4 separate regions of the Homo sapiens genome follow, and all the other regions are linked to region 1. Evidence: promoter capture Hi-C in 16 types of primary human blood cells and fetal thymus (Javierre and others, 2016). All regions are on one chromosome and are shown on one strand. Each heading gives the region's core, a stretch centred on a gene start or on the middle of the fragment in contact. The rest is flanking DNA. Distances are from core to core; before and after follow the strand shown. Region 1 holds the start of CA13 (carbonic anhydrase 13). Region 2 overlaps CPNE3 (copine 3). Region 3 overlaps WWP1 (WW domain containing E3 ubiquitin protein ligase 1). Region 4 overlaps CPNE3 (copine 3).

The links. The method cuts DNA at HindIII sites, captures the fragments that hold promoters and counts their contacts. A CHiCAGO score of 5 or more calls a contact.
Region 2: a fragment that was not itself captured here is called in contact with the fragment with the promoter of CA13 in region 1 in 1 of 17 cell types (neutrophils); the score reaches 5.9 in neutrophils.
Region 3: a contact is called between a fragment that was not itself captured here and the fragment with the promoter of CA13 in region 1, in 7 of 17 cell types (total B cells, M2 macrophages, naive CD8 T cells and 4 more). The highest score is 6.1, in total B cells.
Region 4: a contact is called between a fragment that was not itself captured here and the fragment with the promoter of CA13 in region 1, in 2 of 17 cell types (naive B cells and total B cells). The highest score is 7.8, in naive B cells.

The regions. Positions count from the first base shown.
Region 1 is chr8:85,243,530-85,249,036 of GRCh38, forward strand. CA13 (carbonic anhydrase 13) reads left to right here and starts at 1,929. Exons shown (of 7, transcript NM_198584.3): 1 at 1,929-2,336. The coding sequence starts at 2,300. RefSeq lists a silencer at 2,184-2,263 and an enhancer at 2,624-2,733. The HindIII fragment of the contact is 11,713 bases long and covers 1-3,817 here.
Region 2 is chr8:86,537,374-86,542,772 of GRCh38, forward strand. It overlaps CPNE3 (copine 3), which reads left to right. Exons shown (of 17, transcript NM_003909.5): 7 at 190-273; 8 at 2,872-2,961. Among named protein-coding and RNA genes, the nearest start is that of CPNE3, 26 kb to the left of the region's middle. The HindIII fragment of the contact is 3,099 bases long and covers 342-3,440 here.
Region 3 is chr8:86,373,614-86,379,013 of GRCh38, forward strand. It overlaps WWP1 (WW domain containing E3 ubiquitin protein ligase 1), which reads left to right. Exons shown (of 25, transcript NM_007013.4): 3 at 417-507. The coding sequence starts at 438. Among named protein-coding and RNA genes, the nearest start is that of WWP1-AS1, 32 kb to the left of the region's middle. The HindIII fragment of the contact is 215 bases long and covers 2,322-2,536 here.
Region 4 is chr8:86,520,462-86,526,633 of GRCh38, forward strand. The region is part of intron 2 of CPNE3 (copine 3); the gene reads left to right. Among named protein-coding and RNA genes, the nearest start is that of CPNE3, 9.1 kb to the left of the region's middle. RefSeq lists enhancers at 2,827-2,926, 2,947-2,996. The HindIII fragment of the contact is 1,670 bases long and covers 875-2,544 here.

The DNA.
Region 1 (5,507 bases), core at 679-3,178:
CTAAAAATACAAAAATTAGCCACTAGTAATGCATGCTTGTAATCCCAGCTACTCTGGAGGCTGAGGCAGGAGAATTGCTTGAACCTGGGAGGTGGAGGTTGCAGTGAGCCGAGATCGCACCATTGCACTCCAGCGTGGGCAACAAGAGCGAAATTCCATCTGAAAAAAATATATATATATATAAGTCCATTGAATGATGGATGCTCTACAGATGACCTAACTAGTTTCCTATGAAAGGTAATTTGATTGTTGCCAATACTTAGGTTGCTGTTTTAGAAAATTATATAGACTGCGCTATGAATTTAAACAAGAAGGAACTTGAAACCACTACTGCAAAATTATAATTGAAACAGTGAAAGAGATTGGACCTAACCAACTCTATCTTATTTCTAACTTCTAAGCTGTCCTTACTCATTCTTAGGCATAGGCTGAACTAACTTTGAGGAGGAACATAGTTTATAGTTTAGAACAAAGACAATAACAGCCCTTTCCCAAAACAAACCTTCTTTCCTGGGGACTGGACCGCCTTTGCAGGACTAACAAATTAGCCAAAAGATTAGAAATTATGGTTTAGGAGTCATACAGCTGGAGGCTGTATGATTCTGACCCTCCCCAAATTGCTCCTGGGAATAACATCACTATTGTAAAGCCTAAGACCAGTGCTTCAGATATGTTGCAGACCCTGCACTGGATGGATCAGCAGGCACCACTCAGCTCGATAAACTGGCTCATCTGATCCCATGGCCCCCACCCAGGAACTGACTTAATGCAAGACAGCTTTGACTCCCTATGATTTCACCTCTGACCCAAACAACCAGGTCTCCCGACTTACTGGCTCTCCTCCACCCACCAAATTGTCCTTAAAAACTTTGATCCCCAATGCTTGCGGAGACTGATTTGTGTAATAATAAAACTCCAGTCCTCTGCACAGCCGGCTCTACGTGAATTTCCCTTTATGAATTGCAATTCCCCTGTCTTGATAAATCAGCTGTGTCTTGACAGTGGGCAAGGTAAACCCATTGGGTGGTTACAAACTGTGTACCCAAGCAATAAAAGTAACAATTTGGGAAGTATTTGAGACCCACCAACCAAAATTTCTTTAACAATTTTGGTCTATTCAGTCATTCATCCATTCATGTAACCACTATTATTGGGTGTCAAGAACTGATACTTACTTAGAACGTTAAGAGCATTATTCATCTTGACATACCAAATCATCCGAGTTACTGAAAATTGGTTTACTAGGTTCCTTACAAAGAGGTTGCTTGGATTTATAAAATATGAGGCAGTTGACCCGAGACAAGGACGTAGAAAGTGGTTCATGTACCCAATTTTTATTTTTCACTTTGAACCCAGAACATTCACGACTCCAGGCCAGAAATTCAAGACTCTGCAGCTAGTTCTGACTCCAGTCCTAGGGTAACAAGCCCACCAAGAATCCAGGGCAGATGTCCTGAAAACCCTTCTTGCGGGGTCAGGAGGGCAGCAGAATTTTGGGACCAAATCTCAACAACTGGTTTTGGTTTCCTCACTCACCAAGCCACAAGCCTGCAGAGTGAGAAGAGGTAAGGAAAGGATGAATGGGCAATGGAGCCAGCCCAGGACCGGGAGCTGGTCCTCTCTAACAGCGACCCCGCCCGCTTTAGCTGAGCGACCCGGGGCAGGTTACATAGTGTCTCTAACTTAAGCCACGTGTTTCTCGAGGAAATGCTGAGAGGATCTAATGGGAAAACGTGGGTACACGTCTTAGCTAAGACCCTCGCCCACGATAAGCCCTTAATAAGTAGTTATTTTTCAGTGGTGGTGATTACCATCGTCATTATTGTTTTGTATTTGTAATCATCACTGCCACGACCATCACCGACCTCTTTTACGCCTCCACCGGGATCCCCACCTCCCAGCCTGGCAGTTCCAGGCTCTGGTGACTCATTCACTTCCTGGAAGTCCTCTAGGCAACACTTTCCTCTCCCGAGTGACGACTCCTCAGAAGGCAGGAGATCCCCCCCGGAAACCTTTCTCTCTCCGTCTCTCCCTCTAACTCAAATCTCTCATTCCCGAGTCCAAACTAAGAGAGACTCGCGCCCCAGGAGTCAGCCAGCGGCGCGGGCGCCTTCCCCGCACGCCTCTGCCGTCTGGAGGACGCAGGCGGGAGCGCCCCGGACCGGGTTCACGGTCTCGCACTCCTGCCGCCGGCGCCCCGCGGTCCCGCCCTAGCAGGCTCCTTCCCGGGCCCCTCCCCGCTCCCTCCTCTTTCTCGCTGCTCAGTCACATCTTTCTCTTCCTTCCACCCCGAGGGACCATGTCGAGGCTCAGCTGGGGATACCGCGAGCACAACGGTGAGCGCCTTTTCCTGATCCAAGGGGGGGTTTGTGCGGGGGACGAGAGGACTAGCGCGACGCCCCGGCGCTCGCTGACCACACACTGGGCTCGCACATTGAGAAACTTTTTCGGTTCCTCTTTAAACTAAGCAGCACTCCTGGGAGCCCAGTGCGAGAAGCGGAGAGCAGTCTTGTCAGGGTAGACGGGTTGTTGGTGGTGGATGTGAGCGTTGGTGTGTGTTATCTCTGTCAGGATTCCCCAAACTCCCAAGTGTTCATACGTGTGAGTTCACCTTCATCTGAAAAGCCAAGGACTTTGCCTAGTAACAGCCACGTATCAATTACAGGCTTGGAGATCAGAAGTCTGATGACACACTTCAGTGAAATAAGGACAAGTTCGCTTTCAGTCTTTTAAGCTCACTATTCACTTAGGAGAAACAAATCATAGAAAATCTTTAAAAATATATTTAGGAAATCTTAACTTGCATTGTGACACTGAAGATTAAGTTGGCTTCGTGGCAAACAAAATACTGCATGTTTCCTAATAGTTGTTACTGTAAATATTCCCACAGCAATTTGCAGTTGGCTGACTACTACTGGGGACTTTAGTAAGGGTTCAGGTTCTCGCTGGGAAATTAAGTTACATTGTGGGTTACTTCTCCACTCTTCTTCTCCACGCTCATCCTTGCAGGGTGAGCAAAGGATTACTGAAATTATAATTCATTGATAGAAATGTATTAATAGGATAAATAATAATGACATACACTTTTCTTCTTGTATATCACACATTATCAAAAGTAAAACATTTTTTCTTGTTCCTACGTTAAACTGAACTGATTGTTTAAATAATAATTATTTGAAATAATCGCAGTGACACCAAAAAGCCTTATAGTGAATAACTGTCAAAATTAAGGCTTAGTTTAGCCATTCCTCAATGTGCATATATTTCAAAACATCATGTTGTACACATAAATATATACAATTTTTGTCAATTTAAGAAGTAAATACATAATAAAGAAAAAAATTAAGGCTGTGAATAATAATGCTTTCCTTCTATTAGCATGTACATGATTAAACAGTATAGAATGGTCAAATTTTATAGAAAGTTTAATTTCACAAACTAACAGAAAAATTCTATTTCTAATTGTAGCCTGTTTAATTTCTAATTGTAGCCTGTTTTTAAACATGCTAGTTTAAAAATGGCAGCAGGTGAAATTTATAACTTTAATAATAAAAGGTGTATAGTCAGATTTCTTCTTGATTAAGGCCATAATTATAATCTTACATTTTGCTAATTTCCAGTGAATGTTTAGGGGGAAAATATGACAAATCTTTTTTCATTTCCCTCTCTGCTGAAGTCGTTTTTATTGGAGTTATTTAATAGTCATTGAATCCCAACTGCGCCTTTATGGTAGTTAGGAAGAAGAAGGGTATTTCAATCAATCAATCAATGGATATTGATTACTCTTTAGTAGGTTAGAAATTATTCACCTGAATGAAGCTTATTTCAGCAATTTTAAAAATTCATCTTAGCAAAGCCATTAATAAGGAGTGATTTTGTATTTCTGTTAGGAATTGTTCTGTTAGGAATTAGCCATTCCTTTCTTTTAGATGCGATCTCTCTCTGAAGACCACATCCTTACTTAAAGGTGTGGTCTTCAGAGAAAGATTGGGAAAATCCTATTGGAAATGTATTATATACTAACTAGGCAAGTTTTTTGTTTGTTTGTTTGTTGTTTTTGAGATGAGTCTTGCTCTGTTGCCCAGGCTGGAGTGCAGTGGCACTATCTTGGCTCACTGCCATCTCCCTCTCCTGGGTTCAAGCGATTCTCCAGCCTCAGCCCCACCAAGTAGCTGGGATTATAGGCATGAGCCACCATGCCTGGCTAATTTTTGTATTTTTAGTAGAGACAAGGTTTCGTCATGTTGGCCAGGCTGGTCTAGAACTCCAGACCTCAAGTGATCTGCCTGCCTTGGCCTCCCAAAGTACTGGAATTACAGGCATGAGCCACAGCTCTGGGCCTAACTAGGCAAGTTTTTTGTTTTTTTTTTTTTTTCTGTTTAAACATTGGTAAACCAGTGACTGAGCAGATAAAAGGAAACTTAAGCTGGGAATAGCAACACTGATAAAATAAAACATCAAGACTTGAAGCCCTGAAAGGGTACTGCCTTCACAAATAACTTAGGATTCTTCCCCTAACCTTTGACTACTTTATTAGTTTAGTTTAGCGAATGTGACATCACTGAAAAGTGTATATCACTGTAGGTATTTAAAAGTTCCTAAATCAGTTGAGCAACCACCACATATCTCTAATTAAGAATTATGCTGGCTGGGCACGGTGGCTCATGCCTGTAATCCCAGCACTTTGGGAGGCCAAGGTGGGTGGATCACCTGAGATCGGGAGTTCAAGACCAGACTGACCAACATGGAGAAATCTCGTTTCTACTAAAAATACAAAATTAGCTGGGCGTGGTGGTGCGTGCCTGTAATCCCAGCTACTTGGGAGGCTGAGGCAGGAGAATTGCTTGAACCTGGGAGGCAGAGGTTGCAGTGAGCGGAGATCACGCCATTGCACTCCGGCCTGGGCAACAAGAGTGAAACTCTGTCTCAAAAAAAAAAAAAAAAAGAAAAAGAATTATGGTGGCTTGCACCTGTAATCCTAGCTACTCAAAAGACTGAGATGGGAGGATTGCCTGAGGCCAGGAGTTCCAGACTAGCCTGCAGGGTCATGGGGGGGACAAGGAGAAGGAGGAGAGGAGGAAATTTTTTTTGGAAAAATTGAAAAAGGGGACCTCTTTAAGAGGCAGGGTACTGAACTGACTATGGTAGTTAGTAGATAATATTGGGAATGTGATACAAACAATTATTACTTTTATTTTATTTTGGTTTGACTTCTTTTTAAAATAGTTCTGTTTATAAATGACTGGAAATAGGAGAGCAAAGCAATTAGGAGAAGAAAGCAACTCTATTGATTGGAAGAATGTCACCTGCATATTGTAACACATGCATTGCGCATTTGAAATTGAATTTTCGTTAGGTTAACTCTTACTTGGTGGCAGTGAAATAGAAGGCTTTTTCTGAATTAAGGGGGAAAAAAGTCTAGGTTATATATAGAAAAAGTACTCAGAAAGATGGTGAAAGTATTGAATAAAAAAGGCTTTTTCTGTAATACATTCTAAGCAAGGACT
Region 2 (5,399 bases), core at 641-3,140, 1.3 Mb after region 1:
TTTGATAATTCTCCCTAGTAGACTTCCGTAAGTTTCTAAGTTAGGGAGAAAGGTGATGGGATGTATATTTACTATCAATACTATAGAGTTAGACTTCAGGTGGTTGCCAACATGTGTAAAGTATGGTCACACATGGTTTCATGGGTTCAGAGGAGAACAAATGCTTTTTGTTGTTTGTTTTAAATGTAGGATCTATTTGGAAAGTCAGACCCATACCTGGAATTCCACAAGCAGACATCTGATGGAAACTGGCTAATGGTTCATCGGACAGAGGTGAATATTTGAATTTGAAAAGCAGAGTGGAGGTGTTCTTTGAAATTATTGTAATCTGAATTTTAAAAAGCTTATATTTATAAAAGTATCAATCTGAGTTCATACTTACATATAGCCAGAGACACAAGATCACCATGTTCATATTTTTTTCTTTCAATGAGGAGGTGCTACCGTACTTTATGATTTTTATTTTGAAAAATTTTAAGTCCTATAAAGAACACTAAATGTATTCCTCTGCACCCCTCACCTAGATTCACCAAATGAACACACACTCCCACATACTTGTGCTCTCTGTCTTTCTCTATCTCTGTCCCTCTCTGTCTCTCTCTCTCTCTCTCTCTCACACACACACACACACACACTTATGCACACATGTATTTTCCTTTTGCAAAATCATCCTAATGGAGCTACAGATATAATAACTCTTATCTTTAAATGCTACAGCAGACCAAGTGTGGTGGCTCATGCCTGTAATCCCAGCACTTTGGGAAGCCAAGGCAGGTGGATCACTTGAGGTCAGGAGCTCGAGACCAGCCTGGCCAACATGGTGAAACCCCGTCTCTACTAAAAATACAAAAATTAGCCAGGTGTGGTAGCACTTGCCTGCAGTCCCAGCTACTCAGGAAACTGAGGCACAAGAATTGCTTGAACCCAGGAGGTGGAGGTTGCAGTGAGCTGAGATCGCACCACTGCACTCCATCCCAGGCTACTGAGCGAGACTCCACCTCAAAATAAATAAATAAATAAATGCTACAGCAGGTAGTTTAAAGAACAGGGACATTCTATACAATAATACTTGAGAAATTAACATTTGACATAGCTAAATGTAACATTATTTGGTATACCATTAATCTTCAGATTTCCTCAGTTGTCCCACAGGTTTTGTGTGTATTTTGTTTTGCTTTGTTTTGTTCAGAATCCAGTCAAGGCTCAAATTTTGGATTTGACTATTATATTCCCAATAGAGGACTCTTCTCCCTACCTTCCTTATACCTTGATGCCATTGAATCTCTTGAAAATCAAGACCAGAATGTCCAACATTCTGGATTCTTCTGTTTCCTCACAACTAGATCCAGATCAAACATTTCTGTCAAAAACACTATGTGTGTTCCTTTTCTTTACATTTTCAGGAGGCTCATGGTGCCAGGCTGCCCAGCATTGATGATGTCATGCTTGGCTACTTGGTTAAGCTGGTGACCGCCAGATCTCACCATGATAAGGTCTCATTTTTCCCCTTTTTAATTAATAAGTGCTATGTGGTGTGAAACTATGAGACTGCATGAATTACATGTTCTCTAGCACTTCAACCAGTGGTTTTAGCATCCATTGGTGATCCTTGCCTAATCAATTATTGTATTATGGGTAGTAAAATAGTGATTTTTCAAAATCTTTCATCCTTTTTAGTTATATTAGCAGGCATTCCTCTTTCATCTCTCTCTTTCTCTGCTTTTATTTTTAGTATCATTATAAATTCATGGATTGTTATAACAGTGTATGCTTTGTATTTAACTCATTATTGTATTTTTGCTGCTCAGATTCATCCATGTTTGACTAGAGAGAGCTCGTAGTCTCTAAAATGGCTCTTGGTTTTTCTTTTTGACTTCATTCATCTTTGAGCAGTCTCTTAAGTTAGAGTATGTTCTCAGTTCCCCTTGTACTTTTTCTGTCCCAGAGCTGGTATGAGCCATGTCTCTTAATAAGCCCTATTCCTGCAAGAGGGTAGTAGTATTTAGACACTGACATCTGAGTGCTGAATGTGCTCATTGCTACTGGATATCATTGTTTTATGCCTTTTAAGTGGACACAGCTAAGAAATATGTATATTTGTGTTTATCTGTTTATTATGTATGTATATATGGTATTAAAATTTTAAATTATAAATGTGGACTTATTTCTCCAATTCAATTCCAACATAGTTTCTTATTCTATATTTACCTTTTCTTATTTCATATTTGAATCTTCTGTGCCCTGCAATGAAACCCTCATTGCTATTAAAATCAATAATCCTCCGCAGTTTTTTTTTTTTTTTTTTTTGAGACGTTGTCTTGCTCTGTCACCCAGGCTGGAATGCAGTGGCACGATCTCCACTCACGGCAACCTCCACCTCCCAGGTTCCAGCAGTTCTCCTGCCTCAGCCTCCTGAGTAGCTAGGATTATAGGCATGCACCACCACACCCAGCTAATTTTTGTATTTTTTTAGTAGAGACAGGTTTTCACCATGTTGGCCAGGCTGGTCTCAAACTCCTGACCTCAGATGATCTGCCCGTCTCGGCCTCCCAAAGTGTGGGGATTACAGGTGTGAGCCACCGCGCCCAGCCATCCTCTGTAGTTCCTAAGTGCTCCTTGTAATAGGTAGATATATTTTCCAAATAGTTTTCTACTTTTCCTCAGAATGTATCACAACTGGACAATTTATTACATTTTTCATGTAGCAGTTGTATAATATTGTTCTAGGTAGTTTTTTTGTGGAAATAGTTGAGTTGATGAAGAGGTGGAGGACGAATGGTGAGAGTATAGCAAGAACCTAGGAAGGGCAGGAGCAAAATGTTAATGAACTGGAAGTTTTTCTAACAGCTTTTTGAAACCACATTTTTATAGGTTGTTAAAAACAACTTGAATCCTGTTTGGAGGCCTTTCAAGATCTCTCTTAACTCACTGTGTTACGGAGATATGGACAAAACCATTAAGGTAAGTTGAAATTATATATATATAAAATACTTAAATATACCCATGTTCACCTATTTTATAAAATTAATACATAAGATAGTATTTAAAGAAAGTAAATGATGTAAGACACCTACAGAGTTAAATTTTATGTGTGTAGAATACTAAAATAGAAATGTCTTCTGGTAAGTGACACAGTTTGAGGAGTAGGCATGTTTGACTAATCTGTTGACCTAATGCTTAGTCAAACAGTGTCGTTTCTATTTTATTCTGTATTTTAAAAAATAAAATGTCCAGTTTAATATTTTTTTCCTTTTAATAAGATTCCTCTGCTCTGCTAATAGGAACCTCGAACTACATTATTTGCCTTTGGTATGTCTGTTGCAGATAGAAGCAGATGTTACCGTAAGAACTCAGAGCTTGCTTCTGCCCTTAGCAAGGGAGGGCAGTATTGATGGCATTTTTCTTCCTTATTTTCAGAATGAGATAAGTAATTAATTGAAAGCTTTTAGAAGGCTTTAGTTTTAGAGTATCAGGGAAGTGGAGTATGAACAGCAAATAGCAGATGTCAGTATTTTTTTAAATGTTTTTATTCATAGGCATTTATTTAAAAAAAGAGTAAAAATATAAATAAAAGAAAACTCATGGAGTGGTGTTGAGAATGAAAAATATATACATACATATACATAAAAGAAACTTTTGTACTAGAATTATTAACTTTACATGATTACAGATAGAGGTCTTTTTTATGTTCAGACTTCAGTCGATCAAAGGGATTTTTTGGTTTGTTTTTCTCTTTTTCTGATAATAAATATGGTAAAAGCAGGCAGGATAATGAGGAGTAAGTATAAGATTTGGAGTCAGACCACAGTTCAAGTTTTGACTTAGTCCTTTAACTGGCTAAGGGATCTTGGGCAGGTAACCACACTTCTTCACATTTACTTATTTATTTATTTTGCTTATTAGTAGGAAGCTTCACCTGGATTCTTCACTTTTATAATAGAGTTAAGAATTTCTACCTTCCAGAAAAGCAAAAATTAAATTAGCAGAAGTGAAAGTTTTGTAAAAATTTTGTAGAGGTGCCATTGTTACTGAAAAACTGCTTCATTTTTGCCGGGCATGGTGGCTCAGGCCTATAATCCCAGCACTTTGGGAGGCCGAGGCGGGCAAATTGCCTGAGCTCAGGAGTTTGAGACCAGCCTGGGCAACATGGCAAAATACTGTCTCTACAGAAAATACAAAAATGAGCTGGGTGTGGTGGCGCATACCTGTGTTCCCAGCTACTTGGGAGGCTTAGGTGGGAGGATCCTTTGATCCTGGGAGGAGGAGGTCTCAGTAAGCCAATATTGCTTCACACTGCACTCCAGCCTGGGTGATGGAGTGAGACCGTGTCTTAAAAAAAAAAAAAAAAAAACTGCTTCATTACTGAGATCCATAAAAAATTGCTTCCAGTTTGTAAAGAACTTTAAAAATCAATCTAAGTATGATTTGTAAGGTATTTGAAACAGTAGTGAAAATCCAGGTCCGAAATAAATAGTTGAAAATTAGCTATAAAAATTATTTTTTATCATTTTGCCAAATCCAGACTTTTGCTTTTCATATTAAAAATAGTAAACATCATTAGATGTCAGAAGGCAGGTAAATCTAGGGGAAAATGTCTAAGCCATAACTATTTGATTGTGTGTAATGATATGTTAACAACAAAACAATATCTTTTAAACTTTTTTGCTCACAGTGGCATGCTTACAGGGCTATTTTATTATAGTAAGTAAACTGATTTTCTGAGCTTTCTCTAATGAATGTCTTCCATTCTTAAAACTTTCTTGGTTTGTTTTTAACTATACACAACTTGGTTTGCTACGTCATCACTGACTTTATTTCATTTAGTTCTGCATTTCTTTGCAATATCAAAAAGTCATACATTTGTGATTCTCTTACTGTTCGAAAATTGCTTATAGGGATAGTAAAGAGTTATAGAGCAGTGAATAGAGTCAGAATCCTCAGTAGTTTCTTTGCCATGTTGTGTTATCATTCTAGCATGTATTATTTTCATTAAGATCAAGTGAATACGAAAAATAATCATGCATGCTGCCACTTTGCCTAAAATGGGAGTGCCTTACTGAATGTAGTATCTGTGTGGTGTGTGCATTCTCTTTCATATATACATATGCCCATGTGTATATATGTATACATTTATTTATTTATTACACATATGTTTATTATGTATACTATATATGCATGTGTATATGTATATTATATATCCATTAAATGTATATGAATACATGTATATATTATATACTTGCATATACATATGCATATGTATATATGCATATATTGTTATGCTTACCATTGTTTAAAAAGCCAATAATACTGGTCTTTGAATTCTTGAAAAGAGAGAAATTAAATGACACGAATTGTCTTACCTCATACCGTATCTGAACATATGCCAGCATTATAAATAT
Region 3 (5,400 bases), core at 1,179-3,678, 1.1 Mb after region 1:
TCAGACTTGGTTGCTCTTCGTCTTAGGTACTCCCAATGGCTTAAATTGGGGTACTTTCCTAAAACATACGTATATGCTTCTGCCATATGTTAGGAGTTTCTACTGACTTGGGCCCTTTGCTTGGTATGGGAATCTCACTCCTTCCCCTTGTAGCAGGCCCAGTGCTTTGTCTGTTCCTGTAGCAGGCATATCCAGGGCAACATTCTAATGTTTATTTTTATTTTTGCTTACTACTCACCATTTTTTCTGTTATTTCAACTAACTTTAGGGTTTTCTTTTAATGGGATGGTAATAGGCTTGATAATTTTCATGTACTTTTTGAGAACTTCTTAGTTGATTTAAACAAGTAGTTTTAATATCTTGAAAATTACAAACTCTTATCTAACACATGAATAAATTCCCCTTTTTTAAAATAGGTTTTAGCTGAATTTTGGGACATGGCCACTGCTTCACCAAGGTCTGATACTAGTAATAACCACAGTGGAAGGTTGCAGTTACAGGTAACTGGTAAGTTATTTTTATATTTAATATGGTGATTCCCTGATGAACTTTTCTTTTGAATACCTAATTCAGCAGACTTATTCCAGAAATAGAATTTCTTTTAGATTCATACTATGGCATATTTGTTGCAACAAGCCTCAAAGGTAGATGCCCTCCAAAACTATATTATTTATTCAGTAAATATTTATTGAACCTATGCTGGATGAAGAGAAGATATAGCCTCTGTAATGGTGGGAGAATTTGGGCTTTTGAATAAGTATCATTGCATTGGCCCTTAAATGATTAATAGGATGGAGCAGGATGCCAAAGGCCTTCTTACATACATTTAGCCATTTGTTCAATCATTGGGCAAATATTTAAGTGGGATTACACAGTACTGTAATTCCCATGGTACTCATTATATGAATTTAGTTATTTCTAGGAGGTTTCAGTTAACAGAGCTAGGAAATGTTTCTTGTAGAAAGCAAAAAATAAAAAATATTTTAACATCCTGAGTTCATGCTGATATTTCCAATTCATAATAATAACTGTAGTCTATAAGTACCATTTTCTACTAAAAGGAAACAAAATTTAAATTAATTTGACTTTATATTCATATCTTTTTTTTTCTTTTGAGATAGGGTCTCACTTTCTCTCCCTGGCTGGAGTACGGTGGCGCAAACATACCTCCTTGTAGCCTCAAACTACTGGGCTGAAGTGATCCTCGTGCTTCAGCCTCCCAAGTAGTTGGGACTGCAGATGTTCAACACCTTGCCTGGCTAATTTAAAAAAAAATTTTTTTAGAGACAGGGTCTCACTATGTTGCCCACGCTGGTCTTGAACTCTTTGTTTCAAGCAATCCTTTTGCACCACCCTCCCAAATTGAGCCACTGTGCCTGGCCTGTAACTCTCTCCTCTTAATCAAAAAATCTCCATTCAAAATGACATTATCATAATATCTGTTTTTATCCTACTACACCAGTTCAAAATAACATGAAAATTACCAAAAACAGAGGGAGAAGGAGGTGAAAAAAAGGTAATTTAAAAAATTACCAAAAACAATAGGTCTACTCATTGCAGTTTAAGATTTCTTTGTGTGTTTTCCCCCTTTAGGACGTATAATCAAAATACCATGTTTTAATGTACTTTAGTAATTCTCTATTTGGTTATATCACCAAATTGATAATTAGTTAAGTTCATCGTTTTCAGTTTTTTTTTTAATTTTGTTTTATAACCTTGTAAGACATTTACATAGTCCCAGAGTCAAAACCAAGGTACATTTAGAGAGGTCTGGCTACTTGGTCCCATTTTCCCACTTCTCTCCCTTGCCCTGTAGGTTCACATTTTTATTAGTTTTGCTTTATCCTTCTGTTGCTTCTTTTTGAAAATATAAGCAGATACATGTGCAGTATACGTATCTCATCTCTCCTCTTAATCTCCTAATTCTTGCATACTTCTCTGTGCTTTGCTTTTTTTAACTTTACAGTATTATTCTGGAGTTTGTTTCATAACAGAATATTCTTTTTCATCATTGCGCCATATCCTGTTGAATAGATGTAAAAAAGCTAACTAGTCTCCTTTTGCTGGACATTGGCGTTCCACTGTTTGCTATTACCAATAGTGCTGCAACAAATAACTTCATACAAAAGTCGTTTCTTATGTCTGCTCATGTATCAATAGGATAGGATCCTAGAATGAGATTGCTGGGTCAAAGGGTAGACACATGTAATTTTGCCAGGTATTGCCAAGTTCCTCTCCATGGGGTCTGCACCATTTTGTGTCTACACCAGCTATACATGACAGTGCCTGTTTTCCCAAAGCCTAACCAAAATCTGTTGTCAAGCTTTGGGATTGTTCATAATTAGACACTGAAGTGGTATCTTAGTGTTATTTAAAATAGCATTTCTCTCACTGTAAGGTTGAACTATAAGGGATATTTGGATTTTGGTTTCTGTGAATAATGGGCATCTATTTTTGAAACAGTTCTGATGAAGCTGATAGGTACTCCACTGAAGAACCACTTACATAATTCCTTCTACTTTTGCTCTGTATAAGAAGCTTAGAGCCCTATTTTCACTACATTTTCAGTTTATTGTAACTTGCGTAGGACCAATGGACAGTACACCTGAGGTGTAACTTTCAAATGATCTTGACCTATGTATAAGAGTTCTTAGGTAAAATAAGAAAAAACTAGGCCAGGCGCGGTGGCTCATGCCTGTAATCCCAGCACTTTGGGAGGCCGAGGCAGGTGGATCACGTGAGGCCAGGAGTTTGTGACTGGCCTGGCCAACATGGTGAAACCCCATCTCTACTAAAAATACAAAAATTAGCCGGGCATAGTGGCACATGCCTGTAATCCCAGCTACTTGGGAGGCTTAGGCATGAGAATCACTTGAACACTGGAGGTGGAGGTTGCAGTGAGCCGAGATGGCGTCACTGCATTCCAGCCTGGGGGATAAAGTGAGGCTCTGTCTCAAAAAAAAAAGAAAGAAAAAGAAAAGAAAAAGAAAAACCTGATCTGGCTAATTTGAGGTGAAAAAGAACATACTGAAAGACTATCAGGTGACTCAAATCTGGAGAACCAGTTGGAAAATAGATGTGGACCAAGGCAGTCTAAGTAGCCAAAACAATGCCATGACAGTATTTATCATTTTGAGCGTCAGTTGCTGCTCTCCTTTGAAATACAGTGATCCTTTTGGGAAAGAATGATCATGGACCTGTGCTAAATGGCACCAGGTTTTAGTGCCTTCTTTTCTTCTTGTCTTTGTCTTCCGTTTTGTTGATCTAATTTTTAAAATAAAAGTCACCTTAAAATTACCAGTCTTACTGATCTCACAATAACTTCTGCAATAAAGATTACTACTCCTGATTTGTCAGTGAGGACACTGAGAATCAGAGGGATTAAGTGCCTTGGGTTAATAATGAGAAACCAACTGAGGTCTTAGGACTCCAAGTTGTTGCTCCTTTTATTAGATTACAAAGACCTCTGTATTGATTTTTTCTTTTTTTTGAAATGGAGTCTTGCTCTGTTGCCCAGGCTGGAGTGCAGTGGCGTGATCTTGGCTCACTGCAACCTCCCCCTCCTGGGTTCAAGTGATTCTCCTGCATCAGCCTCCCAAATAGCTGAGATTACAGGTGCATGCCAGCATTCCTGTCTAATTTTTTTTTTTTTTTTTGTATTTTCAGTAGATACGGGGTTTCACCGTGTTGGCCAGGCTGGTCTCGAACTCCTGACCACAGGTGATCCGCCTGCCTCGGCCTCCCAGAGTGCTGGGATTACAGGCTGAGCCACCACGCCCAGGCTTTTCTTTTCTTTTTAAAAACAGTAAGTACTCAGATTAAGACCCCTCTAATATTGCAGTCTGGCTGTTTATTGTCTGTAAACCGAGGTTCTCTGCCCTAAGCCAATTTTTTTTTTTTATTTTTAGCATATTTACTCTTATCCTCATTTCTGTTCTTAACCCTTATCTGATTGGCAGCAACATGTAAGAATAAGAGCATTGATCATGGAACGCGGAAAAACTGATGGAAAAAATCAAACAGAAAACTACCTATTGTCATATAGTAATATACTGTAATGTACCAGCTACTCAAGGATAGTAGCATATAGAAGTGTATTATCTTCGATATTTTAGATTTTAGACTTTCAACAGGAAACTGTCAGAAGCATAGAGTATGCAAGATGTATAAAGGATGAGATTGAAGAAAAAATGGGCTGTTGTATTCATGTTTATAATTTTTTTTTAGCTATTGTGTCTTCTAAAGCATTTTCACTTTTTAAAGTAAAAGTGTCAAATCATATACCACTTATTTTTGTATGAGTGGTGTGAATTATAGACTTCATTCTTTTCAAATGTTTCAAAATTTATGGTCTCATCTATCTTCCCATTGATTTGAAATGCCACTGTTATGCATTAGTATCTTGCTTTTCTCTTTACTTCTCTTTTACATCACTGTCAAACCATTTTAATTATTTTCACTTTATGGTACTTTTTAAAAAAATATTTTGAGAAATTTCCTTTTATTACTTTGCATTTTAAAATACACGTTTACTGTTCTTGATTTTTCTTTGGCTTTTATTTGAATATTTAAGTCTCCCTTCCTTTTCCTCTGCCCCCACCAAAAACACTCAAAACCAATCAGTTGGTGTTTTTATTTTAAAATAATGTATTAAATTGGAGCTAATTGAAATATTTCAATGTTAAACTTTTCAAATCTAGGAATATATCATATCATTTTTTTTAAGCCTTTGTTTCCATTGGTAAAGTTTTATAGTTCTCTTCATGTGACTCTTACTTATTTCTTAAGTTTATTACTAGATTTTTTGAAGGGATGTTATTGTGAGTGGGATTTTTGAGTTAACTCTCCCTACCCTCTCACAGGTGACTCATTTTCTGATAGTTTAAAAATACTTATATAACCTTAGAGTGGAGGACATTCTGTGTATAACACCAAAGGAAACTCATTAAATGAGAAAAAAAATCTATATATTCTACTAACTAGAACAACTTTTTGAATTAATAAGGTTGTCTTCTAGTTATTTAAAATCACATTATTTATATGTACATTTTGCTAGCATATTTATAAATTCCTCATGAGATTAAAGATTATTATCTTTGAAAAATCTCTTTTCTTACCTTACCCTCTAGTATTGTTGAGTATTTTGCCAAGTAAGGGTATTCAGTGGACGTATTTTGGATGGATCTGTAATGAACTCAGAGAAGAGTTAATACTATATAGTCAGTAATAATAGAGTAACAGCTACCATTGTTGGATGCCAGACATTCATTGATGGTGATAGTGCCTTGCATGCCTTCACTCACCAATCCTAAGAATCAGGTACTGCTGTTCTTCTGATTTTTCAAGTAAGGGATGGAGAAATTAATTGACTTACTGTGGTCAGGCTTTTAGTAAGTGGCA
Region 4 (6,172 bases), core at 460-2,959, 1.3 Mb after region 1:
GGAGAATCACTTGAACCCAGGAGGCGGAGGTTGCAAGTGAGCCAAGATCTCCATTGCACTCCAGCATGGGCGACAAGAGTGAAAGTCCATCTCAAAAAAAAAAAAGATTTAACAGCTGAAAAAACCTGAAGCCTGGAGAAGTTACAGCAGTTGCCCAAATGCCTGCCATTGTGGTGTGACTAACACAGAACCAGGCATTTCTTTTTTTTTTTTTTTGAGACGGAGTCTTGCTTTGTCACCCAGGCTGGAGTGCAGTGGCGCAATCTTGGCTCACTGCAACCTCTACCTCTGGGTTCAAGTGATTCTCCTGCCTCAGCCTTCCAGGTAGCTGGGACTACAGTGCACCATGCCCAACTAATTTTTGTGTTTTTAGTAGACACAGGGTTTTGCCATGTTGACCAGGCTGGTCTCAAACTCCTGACCTCAGGTGATCTGCCCAGTCCATTTCTTTTGACACCTGATCCAGTGATTCTTCCTTTTTGTTTCTTTTTTGTTTTGTTTTATGTATATTTATGCTTGACATTATTCCCTATCTTCATTTCTGGTATCCTGTGGTAGTGATTAAAAAAATACATCTGGGCATCACTTTGTTACTAAATACAGAACAAGCGTAGTTTAAATTCTTTTAATGTGAGTTTTTTACTCTCAGAGTCTGGATATTAAGTGCAGTATATTCCTGAGAATAAATGTTGCTGCTCTAAGACGATCTAATGGCACCTACACACATGGCAGACCTGTGTGTGTAGAGACACACTAGCAAGGAGAACTTGCTTTCTTAGCCTTAAGTAATTTACAATTTAATGGGTTATCTTGAAGAGGAACTGCTATGAGGTAAATAAAATATAAACCATTCCAGTTCTTCCATTCTTTGGCAAGCTTTTGTTATTCTGGTTACGTTTGTTTAAGAACCATATAACTAGTTTTAGCCTCAGTATTAACCTTGTAATTTTAAAGTTCCTATTTTATTAATTTGTGTCAGGCTGAATATTACTTTTGATATTAACAAGACTTAAGGAAATTAATAGAGAATATTGCTGTTATACTAAGTAACTATTTTTTGATATTGTTTTTAATTGAAAAATCATAATTGTTTACATCTATGGAGTTTATTTATTTTTACTAATACTATTTTTACTTGACAGCTAATTAACTATTAATTAGAGGCTTTAGTGCTCTGAAGGGATTTTGGCATAAAGGGGAAAATACCTGGGTTTATGCTGTGGTGGTGACACTTACTAGCTTTGTGATCCCATGTAAGTAATTTAACCTTTTTGAAGAAATTTATATTTTTTTCCTAATATATACTATGCATTATTTTGAAGATTAACAATGTGCTGAAAATTATCAACATATTCTGGGTCAATCAATTCAGACACTGGAGTGCCTTATATTATAGTCATACCTGTGACATATGGACCTTCCACCATGTAGTAATCATTATCCTGCCTAACTCACAGAGTTTTTGTAAGGTTCAGAAGATAATATATTATTTGGAAGCACTTTGAAAATTGTAAAAAAAAACAAAATCTGTCCAGTTGTATGGAATTATTAACTATCTTTTCTTTCCCCTTATTCTTCTACTCCCCACTTTCTTACTGTCTACCCTTGAATGTAAGGGTGAAAAAGAAATCTGGTAGTCAGTAGCAATAATACTGCAAATTCTTTTTGTAGTGGAGTATAGTTTTAATCGTCAGTAAAAGTAGAAATCTCTGGGGAGCTTCTTCAGCTCCAAGAGCACTTTGATTGTTCCCTGTCTGTACCACACAATTTTATACTCTTGTATACTATTTCTATGTATACATAGTTAGCTAAGTAGCTAAGTATTTATTTCGTTTTTGCCTCCCCCAACCCTCACTTTTGGAACACCTAGAAAGTATTCAGTAAGTAATTGTTTTATGAATGGGTCTCCCCAATTTGATTATAATGAGCTACAAGCGCTTCTGTTGCTGTATAATGTCCCTGCTGTCCTTAGCAAAATAATGGGTTTACAGTAACCTGGTAATAAATACATTTGCTAGTCTGACCTGGGAACTCTGAGGAGCATAGCAGCCTTTGGATTTACAGCCATATTACCTGACGCCCGCTGCTTTTTTTTTTTTTTTTTTTTTTTTTTTTTAGTAGGGGAACACTTATTACTATTCTGAGCAACACAATTTGAGAAACACTGCCTAGGGTGTGTTTTGCTGATGTTGCTGGGCCGGTTCCAGCTGCCCCAGGGTTGCCCTTGCTTGCTTTCAATAGCGGTCAGGCAGGATGTACTGCAGAATAGCAGTTAGTGAATCATGGTATTAGAACCAGAAAGAACTTCTGAGAATTTTTTACATTAGGCCAGTCTCTTCATTTTTCAGCTGAAGACTGAAGGAACTTTACTAAAGGGATTTGTAGATAGGCACCGACTTCTCCTTCACAATTGTTTTAGGACACATTTTGAGTCACTGACATGAGCCTGCGCTCCCCTCACCTGCGTACCTTATCTATACTCAAGGCTGACTATTTCACCAAATTAATTTTATGTAAATCCCAAAAATCATTATTGTTTCAAGAAGCTTTTCATAAGTAAGGATGAGAAAGCTGCTTTATGTCTTACTACTTAATAACAAGCCATCTATGCTGAGACAATCAATTAAAATCCCTGACTCAGTAATAAAATAATTGCTACAATTCATAGAGTGTCTATTATATGCTGAGCATGCTACAGACCTACAGTTGTCAGGGTTTTTATTAAGTTTATTTTTCTCTCTTAGCCTTATTTACATTGAAGGACTAGTGTCAGGGTTTTTTAATATCCCCATTTTATAAATTAGGAAATTGAAGTTCAGATAGACAATTTGGCAGAGGTGACACATCCAAATTAGTGATGGGAAAGAAATTTGAATGACACACGCTGACTCCAGCATTATTGCTCTTTCTGCTACAAATAACCTGTGCCAGATGTCATGCTTCAGGAAGAAGAGGAAGTGGTAAAATATGTTCGCTGCCCACAGTTCACAGTATATAGACGGAGTGATGAGCCACAAATACAAGTAACAATAGTGGAAAGAAAATAGAATCAGTGCCATAACAGCATGAGGGGTATCAGCAGGGTATCAGCAACAGCTGTATGAATGAAGTATCATTTGAAGTGTTTGTTTTGTTTTGTTTTGAGATAGAGTCTCACTCTGTCGCCCAGGCTGGAGTGCAGTGGTACCATCTCGGCTCACTGCAACCTTCACCTCCTTGGTTCAAGTGATTCTCCTGCCTCAGCCTCCCGAGTAGCTGGGATTACAGGCACCTGCCACCACACCTGGCTAATTTCTGTATATTTAGTAGAGACAGGGTTTCACCATGTTGGCCAGGCTGAGTTCTTGAACTCCTGACCTCAAGTGATCCCCCTACCTCGCCCACCCAAAGTGCTGGGATTACAGGTGTGAGCCACCGTGCCCGGCCTGAAGTGGATCTTGAAGAACTTGGGTGGGCAGAGGTAGCTGTTCAGGTAGATTAGGGGTAGATGTTGGCAGAGCCATGAATTCCAGGCTTAGTTCATTGGACTATCACTTTTTAATCAGAAGTGATAAAACCATAATGTGAATGGAGAGAAAATGGCAGTGGGAATACCCATTAGGAGACTATTATATAAGGCAGGTGAGAGATACAGAAGACCTGAAGTTAGGGTTGTGACTCTGGGTATGGGAAAGCGGCTGTATCTCCATGTTTGGGAGAGATTTGGGGTTCTAGTAGGCAGAATCTCTATGACATCTTTACTGGATAAATCTAAGAGTAGGTTTAAGGAGGAATGGGAAAAGAGGAAGTAGATAAGACTTCAGGATTTTCAGCCAGGGCATGGGAATGACCAGATGCCTTAAATTTCACATATCAGGTACCACTTTAAATATTAGGTCTTAATTCTCAGCTCCTTATGTTTATCTCTGTTATAATATTGATTCAGAACGTTAGGGTGACTGGGAGAATTATTGATATATTTGGTGTTTCTAGGGATTATTTGCATTTCAGAAGACGTGTTTGGATCAAATTTTGTCCAACAAGTAATAATCTGTACAGTAGGGAAGCTGTTGTCTAATCCTAGGGATTATTTGTGTTTTCTATCCTGCTCTTTAAGGAGTAAAATACTACATAGAATTCTTCTTTAGTTGCTCATGCATTCTTTGCCAGGTGACTTATCCCAGCCAAATCTTTCATACTAAAAGAGTATAAAACGTTTGTTTTATTTTTCCTCATCATAATTTTTTTTTTTTTTTTTTTTGCGACAGGGTCTTGCTCTGTCACCCAGGCTGCAGTGCATAGCTTACTGTGGCCTCGAACTCCTGAACTTGAGTGAGCCTCCTGCCTTAGCCTACTGAGTAGCTGGGACTACAGGTGCATGCCACCTTGGCTGGCTAATTTTTTCATTTTTCTTTCTTTCTTTCTTTCTTTTTTAGACGGAGTCTTGCTCTGTCGCCCAGGTTGGAATGCAATGGCGTGATCTCACTGACCGAAACCTCCGCCTCTGAGGTTCAAGTGATTCTCCTGCCTCAGCCTCCTGAGTAGCTGGGATTACAGGCATGTACCACCATGCCTGGCTAATTTTTGTGTTTTTAGTAGAGACGGGGTTTCACCAGGTTGGCCAGGCTGGTCTCAAACTCCTGACCTGGGATAATCCACCTGCCTCGGCCTCCCGAAATGCTGGGATTACAGGTGTGAGCCACTGCGCCCAGCCTAAAATTTTTTGTTTTTGTAGAGATGAGGTCTCTGTTGCTCAGGCTGGTCTTGAACTCCTGGGCTCAAGCAATCCTACTGCCTCAGCCTCCCAAAGTGCTGGGATTACAAGTATGAGCCAATATGCCCAGCTCCCATTATGATTTGTGGATAAAGTATACTATTGCTCTCTTAAAAAATTGTATATCATGTACTGGATAATTACATTAAAAGGAAATGAAAACAGTATCTTCATGAATATTACCATTAACAAGATTCCAGACCCTAGTGTTTATGTAATTTCTTCCATTTGCCATTCAGCCATAATGGGTTTCAGGATAACATTGAGACCAGCACAGAGTCATTTTTCAGAGAGGAATGCTGCTAATAGAAGAAATTTGTTTCCTGGCAGCAATGCAGTAGTATAACTGTCAGCAATTGGTTAAATAATCAGCTGTGCCTGGCATGTTGTTTTTGTAGCTTTTGTATAAGCATTTTTAGGGAAAAAAATAATGCTCTTCTGATATGTGGTGTCTCTTTGCTGTGAGACTGACTTCACATGTAGATGTCTTCATTCTCTGTTGAATTCTTCCCATCCTTGGAAATTTGAAGACTTTTCTGCTGGCTGGTAGAGAATCCTCTACATGTTTTTTTGGGGGAAGCTTTAGCTATTGTTGCTCATTCTATGTTCATCCACAGGGCACTGCATTATGCTTGATATTGCTGACATACAACTTACAAGACTCTAAACTACCTTATGCAAAAAAAAATCATACAACTCACATTTATTTTACAGATTCTGTATTAGATGCAAAAAAACAGTATGCCTGGCACGTGCCAGATTTACAAATTTACTTGCATTATCTCCATTTTTACTGATGAGGAAATCTAGGCCCAGGAAGTTGAAGTTACTTATACGTGGTCACACAGCAAGTGCCAGATGGAGGGTTCAACCGGGCGGTGGCGGGCACCTGAAATCCCAGCTACTTGGGAGGCTGAGGCAGAGAATTGCTTGAACCTGGGAGGCGGAGGCTACAGTGAGCTGAGATCGCGCCACTGCAGTACAGCCTGGACGACAGAGCAAGACTCCGTCTCAAAAAAAAAAAAATTGGGTGTGTGCATTACCCCAAATTTGATCTTGTTCCTGTAATGCAGTAATCTGTTACTATTAGTGCAATAGGAATTCAAAGGAACACCTTAGTATGGATTGGAATAATCAGGATAATCATGGAATGGAATAATAAAAAAATATGAAACATGGGATAGATAAGATAGGATCAGACCCTAGAGGCAGATAGTGATAAAATGATAATAAAATGTGAGCACTTACTGTATACTAGGCACATATATAAATATATAAGATACATATTTTTTGTTTGTTTGTTTTGTTTTTTTTTTGAGATGGGGTCTCACTCTGTCACCCAGGTTGGAGTGCAGTGGCATGATCTTGGCTCACTGCAAACTCTGCCTTCCAGTCTCAAGCGATCCTCCTACCTCAGAC